Regions from separate parts of the Homo sapiens genome. Here region 1 is linked to region 2. Evidence: promoter capture Hi-C in human tissues and cell types (Jung and others, 2019). All regions are on one chromosome and are shown on one strand. Each heading gives the region's core, a stretch centred on a gene start or on the middle of the fragment in contact. The rest is flanking DNA. Distances are from core to core; before and after follow the strand shown. Region 1 has its middle 79 kb from the start of NPBWR1. Region 2 holds the start of NPBWR1 (neuropeptides B and W receptor 1).

Region 1 (3,203 bases), core at 335-2,834, 79 kb after region 2:
AGATCACCTGAGGTCAGGAGTTCGAGACCAGCCTGGACAACATGGTGAAACTCCGTCTCTACTAAAAATACAAAAATTAGCCAGGCATGGTGGTGGATGCCTGTAATCCCAGCTACTCAGGACGCTGAGGAAGGAGAATCACTTGAACCCAGGAGGCGGAGTTTGCAGTGAGCTGAGATATTGCCACTGCACTCCAGCCTGGGTGACAGAGCAAAACTCCATCTCAAAAAAAAAAAAAAACAAGATCTTAATCAGTTATTTGATTTCATGTAATTAAATTTTATTTTGCTTGATCAGTTTCTATATTACAGTTCTGAATATTTTTATTTCATCCATTGATCTTAACATTACCAGAAATCGGTGTTCGAGGGTACTTGTTAGACTTCTCCATGAAAAGCAATTTTGGACTATAGCTGATTACAAAGCCATTTAAAGAAGAATTCAAAACAGTAACTGTGGATAACAATAACTGAAGATACTATGATAAAAAAACTGATCAAAGTTCACACTTACAATGAAATTTAGTTATTTTTATTACCTGTGGCATAAAGATAATCAGAATTATGACTGACAATGTCACATTAGGACCATCAGACTTATACATTTTATGTAATCTTTAGGATATTCACATAAATAACATATCCATAAAAATATCATTTTGAAAAAAGATTTAACATTAACAACTAAAATTATGACTGATAACATATTAGATTTTTATGAATTTATATAAAAATTTTTGAAACATTATATCAGTAATATATCCATAAGTGTAACTGAAAGAAGATCTAGTATCGCTTATCATTTGACAATGCTTCCCATACAATTTACCAAATAAGTCTAATCATTTAATATCGCTGCAAAATGAGAGACACATTCTTTGAGGCTCTCCAGGGGCCCAAAGTTAATTTTAGGTGTAACAGGCTTCACTTAGAATTTTAATCCTGGAGAAGCTTTCCAAAGATGTCAAAGGGTTCAAAATACTTCATCCAAATATACTTAGATCTAAATGTAAGTATTAATAGATCTAAATATATTTAGTCTTTATATAAAATCTCAGGGACAAAAATCAAACTTATTTATGATCACCAATTTGTTTTCGTTTTTATCTTATTTCGAAATGACCTAGACATTTAATGAGTATTTATTACGTAATTTAACGCAACAGAGCTTTAAATTTTTTAATTACATAAAAAGTTTACTTATAAATGCTTATACCATTTACATTTACCTGATTTATTTATTTTTAATAGTTTACCTAGATTACTTGTGGAAACTGAGATATTAAACAAAGCTAGTCATCGTTTGGAATTATTTCTGTTAACCATCTTTAGAGCCTGTGAATATCAGGTGTTCATCTAAGTAAAAACTTTAAAGTTAAATAGATGGACATTTTGCCAATAACTCGGAAGATACAGTTGTTTTCATTAAAACAACAATATTAAATTAGTCTTAAGTATCAAAAAAATTGCAAAAGGAAAGGTCATTCTGTTTAGGCTGGGTTTACAGTTTCATCATCTGTGTGTCAACATCCAACAGAAACTAATATAAAGCCACATGACCAGCAAAACTGTATGCAGACAATTCTGAAGATATTTCTATCTTGTTAATAATTTTAAAGCCAGCTTAAGTCACGTAAGCTAAAGAGCCATTTTGGGTTAATTACTATATATTTTATATGAGTATTTATTTACCTAAGCCAATCTAAATAAAATTCCTAGAGCATTTCTGGCTGTGCCAGATTTTACCATGTAGATACAACACATAACATAACACATGTATATGTGCATAAACACACCTAAACATTTATACATATGCACAAAGATCTTATACCTTTAATTTTAGAATTTTAGTCATGAAATCACAATACCAACTCTATAGTTAGAAGTTTTTTAGAGAATTTGAATAATGGCCATTTGAGCTCTGAATTTTTCTTGATGTAATTTTGCCCATCAGTTTTAAAATGGGAAGAACAGGCCATAATATGTAGCTGGCTGGAGTCCCAGGAAACCTGGCATGCCTTAATGTTTGAGAATCCCATTCCATTTCTTATTAACTTCACAAAAGCAAAGAAAATCCTATAAATCCTGTCAGAGGACCTCAGGAGTTTGGACCAGTGTTTTAGAGGGAGTCAACCACCTAGTGGCTTTTAATTAGCCATCTTGTGCCCACCATTTACTATGTTTATGATTACTCTCAGAAAATTTGTGGAAACAAGCAAAGGAGAAGAGTCAAACCAAATCAAAAGAAACCAAGATAATAGTGTTCACAAAAATGTTAACCCAGGCTTTCAAATTAACCAAAATTTTAATCTAGGTACATAACCAAAAGTGAATTCACCAGAAATGCCATGCCTCACAGACAAAATGTAAATTATAGAAACAAGAGTGCTCAACCCAGAGGACACTTGTCTTTATATCAGAAAAGACTTACCAGAAAAGACAAAAAGTCTTTTATCATCCCAGGAGGAATGTATGGTTCTTTAGTAAGGTGGCCTCATGCAGACAAAGTCAAGAGCTTCTACCCAAAAGAGGACTCCTCGGCTGAGAGAAGACTCTCCAGGACAGGAAAGGTGAGCCATGGAAGCAGAGAGCCATGGAAGCAGAGAGGCTCAAGTACTGCAAACTGGTTCCAAGAATCTCTGACTCATCCAAATGGGATCCTACTCTAGGTCCCACTTCTGAACACCATTTATGTCAACATAAATAACAAACAGAGAGATGCTTTCTGAAAGAAAATGATGTTTATTTGGGACTAGAGCCTTGTGATGGGAATACAGTTACCATAGTTAACTATGTGTGTATTCAGGGAAGTAAAGAATGACAAAGGTTTTTAAAGGAAAAATGAGGAGAATAACATAATTGTTTTGAAATGATTATTCTTGCTATAAAGATCAATAACAATGGTAATGCCAGTCCAAGGTTGGACTTTTTTTTTTAACATGAGTAACTCCATTTTGATTCTGACAATGTTCACAGTCTATACAATGGAAATACCAGTCAGCAACAAAAAGGAACAAACTGTTGATAGATTCTACAACCTGGATGAATCTACAAAATTTATGCTGAGTAAGGAGCCAGTCTCCAAAGGTTACATACTGTATGATTCCATATGTAACATACTTGAAATGAGAAAACTATAGAACTGATTACTGGTTGACAAACATTTTAAAAAGAGGGGGAGGCTGGGAGCAGATGGGAAGTAGG
Region 2 (3,449 bases), core at 299-2,798:
CGCCACCACGGTGCTCAGGTGGTAGGGCGTCCAGCAGAGGAGGCACACCGCCAGGATTGCCACCACCAGGAAGGTCACCCGCTTCTTGGCGCGCTCCAGGGCCTTGGCGTGGCTGTCCAGCCGCATGGCATGCAGCCGGCACAGCAGGGTGGTATAGAGGACACAGATGGTGGACACGGGGATGGCGAAGCCCAGCACGAGCGTGTAGAGGCGGCTCGCGCGCCACCAGAAGGCCTCGGGCTGCGGAAAGACTAGCACGCACTGGCGCCGGCCCTGCTCGTCGTCTAGCCGGGCGAAGACTGCGAAGGGCAGCACGACGAGTGTGACGATCCCCCACACGGCCAGGCTCACCGCGCGCGCGGCGCTGTAGGTGCGGCCGGCCACCCGGCGCGACTCCGCAGTGGCCAACACCACCAGGTAGCGGTCGGCGCTCATGACGGTGAGGAAGTAGAGGCTGGAGAAGGTGTTGTACTGGTCGATAGCCACGATGAGCTTGCACATGAGCTCCCCGAAGGGCCACTGCCGCAGCAGGAAGTCGGCGATGTTGATGGGCAGCACCAGCGTGAAGAGCTCGTCGGCGATGGCCAGGTTGAGGATGAACAGGTTGGTGACGGTCTTCATGCGGGGCGCCCGCAGCAACACGTACAGCACGGCGGAGTTGCCCGCCAGACCCACGGCGCAGATCACCGCGTAGACAACTGGTACAGCCACCGCCAGCGGCGCCGGCAGCGGCGCCAGAGTCGACGCGTTGGAGCAGCTCAGCGCCGGGTCCGGGCCCGATGCGTTGGCGGGCCAGGGCTCCGAGAACGAGGCGTTGTCCATCTCAACGAGGGCAGAGGAGCCGGCGACCTGGCGTCCCCCAAGGACGCCCTACGGAGCTCAGCGGTCCTGAAGCCCGGTTCTGCACGGACCTGCTCGCGGACGCTCGTTTCAGCTCTCCAAGCCGTTCTCTGGTTTTTCCGGAGGAGGGGACCGTTCCCAGCCACCCCACGGCCCAATGTCGCCGCGGACTCACGGGGCTGGAAAGAGGAATTTAAAGCATAGGTTAGTTCGTCGACGTGTAACTTTAGAAATAGGCGCGGTCCCGAGGAGGGGTGGGGGTGGCGCCGCGGCGCCCCAAACCTCCTCCACGTGAGCGCTCTCTGCTACCTGTTGAAATCTCACTTCTACCAGTTGAATACATCAAACGAAATGCTAGAGAGAGAAGAATCCTCCATAGGAAAAATGCAAACCCTTCTCCCCTCTTTCAGGAAACTTCCGTAGACCCAGGTTACCCCACAGAATCCCGCAGTGGCAAGCTTCGGTCTCCCCAGGGTCTGTGCGCCCTCAGTAACAGCAAGCTCAACAGCAGTCTTTACCTTACCTGGCTGGCTGGGGAAGGGGTCTGCCTTTCCTGGAGCTGTCAGGAGAAAAGCCCGCCGGCTGCGGGGAGGCTGAGACGCCTGCCGGCTGGGTGTCCGCCTCCCCCTGTCTGCCTCCCCCGAGTTCGCCAGAGTCCGCAGCTCGCGTCCCCGCCGGTCCCTCCCGCGCGCCTGGAAGTGCAGGGATGGCGCAGCCGCGACTGCGTTCCACTGCCCTGACCGCCGCGCCCACCCCCACACCCCAAGTAAAATGGTCTTAGAACAGAGAACAGAAATTCCCCCAAATTTAAGGGATTCCTTTCTTCCATCCCAGTCGTGCAACCTCACTCCATCTGAAATAATAGAAAGCTCTCCTGTTAAGAATCGAATTTAAGGAAAACAAAGTTAGGGTGTAAGTGATCTATTTTTAAAGGAGAACAATGTAGTGGAGGCGCCTGTTCCATTTTTTATACACCGTAACACAAATAGGCTAATGTAATGTGAAATCTGAAAGGAGGAAAAAGTGAGTGCAATTTTATAATGCAAATCACCTGTTTTCTGCTACTCTGGTCTTCAAGGGGATAGAAGATTGTTAGTATGTTTTCTAAAACTACTTCTACTTCTACTTTTGTGTAAGTAAAGACTTGATTAGTAAAGACAAACGGCTTCCGCAAAGCCTTTTAGGGAACCATGACAATGCGTATTTCATAAAACGTTACAAGTTGTTCAACACACTCTCTACTTATCCACACACTTGCCCGATTCTCCTGCTAATGAGAGCTATCCTGCGATCGCAGCGGAGAGTAGCCAAGGAAGGACTAGCAGGGGCAGTCTTGAACTCCCCTGTCGCTATTTCCCTGGACTTTGGATTCTTTCTCTAGGAAGGGAAAATCATCTTAGGCTCCTCACCAGTTCCCCTAAGAATCGAATGAAATAAACTAAATATTGGTTATTTCCAATTTCTGCTTTTTTTTTTTCTCCACATTTCCTTTAGGAGAGAGAGCAAATTAAAACACGAGATTATATCCTCTAGTAAACTACCCTTCCACAAAAGCAGGCGAAGCCCAAATAAAGTGTATTTTTGGTCCTCTAGGATGCATCTTAGAGAAGGGGGCCTGAGATCCAGAGAGACCTAAAGTCGGCAGTAGAAGACTGTGGGGCCAGAAATACAGTAGCCCCCCCATACCTATGGGGGATAGGTTCCAAGAGCCCCAGTGGATGCCTGAAACCATGGATAGTACCCATTGCGGTCAATGGGAACATGTTTCTGTTCTTCCATCCAAAAATGATGCAACAGCAAAACTAGCATGCATTTCTTTTTTCTTCTTCACATTTTCGTGGATAGATTTGTTTTTAGTAGATCTTGGCAACCTCTGCATATGATTTTTTTTCTTTCCTTATTAAGTCCAGAATTTTTACCTTTTAACTTAAAGGAGGCATTTGCAGCTTCTCTTTGGCATATCTGAATTGCCAGCATCACTTCTCTTGCACTTTGGAGCCAGAGAGAAATAAGGGCAAAAAGTCAGTAAAATCAAGGCAACTTGAAGACACCACACTGGTCATTGCCACAGTCATCTAATAACCCAGATTGTGAAGTGACTAACAGGTGGATATTGTAGACAGCAGGGAAACGCTGGGCAAAGGGAGGACTCACTTTCTGTGGGAAGGAGTAAGATGGCTGGATCTCATCACGCCAATCAGAAGTCAACACAATTGAAAACCTAGGAACTGTTTATTCCTGGAATTTTCTGTTTAATATTTTTAGACCACAGTTGACCACGAGTAACTGAAACTAGGGACTCCAAAACCACTGACAGGGGGATCCACTGTCCAAAAGCTCCCTGGAATTTACCTACTCAATTATCTTTTTACCAGGATCTATACAAATCGGCTCCCCTGCAGTTTCACACTTTCTGTGAAACAAAATAACAGATGATTCTTAAGCTATGTCCGTAAGAAACACTATATGATAAAACACCATATAATGTTAAAGAAAAAATATATATAATAGAAAATCTCCAAACGGTTGAAGATGATCAACTATATACACATACGTGTATACATACACATATATACACACACGTGTATATACACACACATATATACACA

Evidence for each region. Contacts are between HindIII fragments. The study calls those that stand out against the background at their distance.
Region 1: a fragment that was not itself captured here is called in contact with the fragment with the promoter of NPBWR1 in region 2 in 2 of the 25 tissues and cell types used here (pancreas and spleen).

What each region holds. Positions count from the first base shown.
Region 1 is chr8:52,858,337-52,861,539 of GRCh38, reverse strand. No RefSeq gene overlaps it. Among named protein-coding and RNA genes, the nearest start is that of NPBWR1, 79 kb to the left of the region's middle. The HindIII fragment of the contact is 5,247 bases long and covers 1-3,203 here.
Region 2 is chr8:52,937,281-52,940,729 of GRCh38, reverse strand. It overlaps NPBWR1 (neuropeptides B and W receptor 1), which reads right to left and starts at 1,548. Exons shown (of 2, transcript NM_005285.5): 1 at 1,364-1,548; 2 at 1-1,019. The coding sequence starts at 822. RefSeq lists enhancers at 110-741, 742-1,373. The HindIII fragment of the contact is 16,506 bases long and covers 1-3,449 here.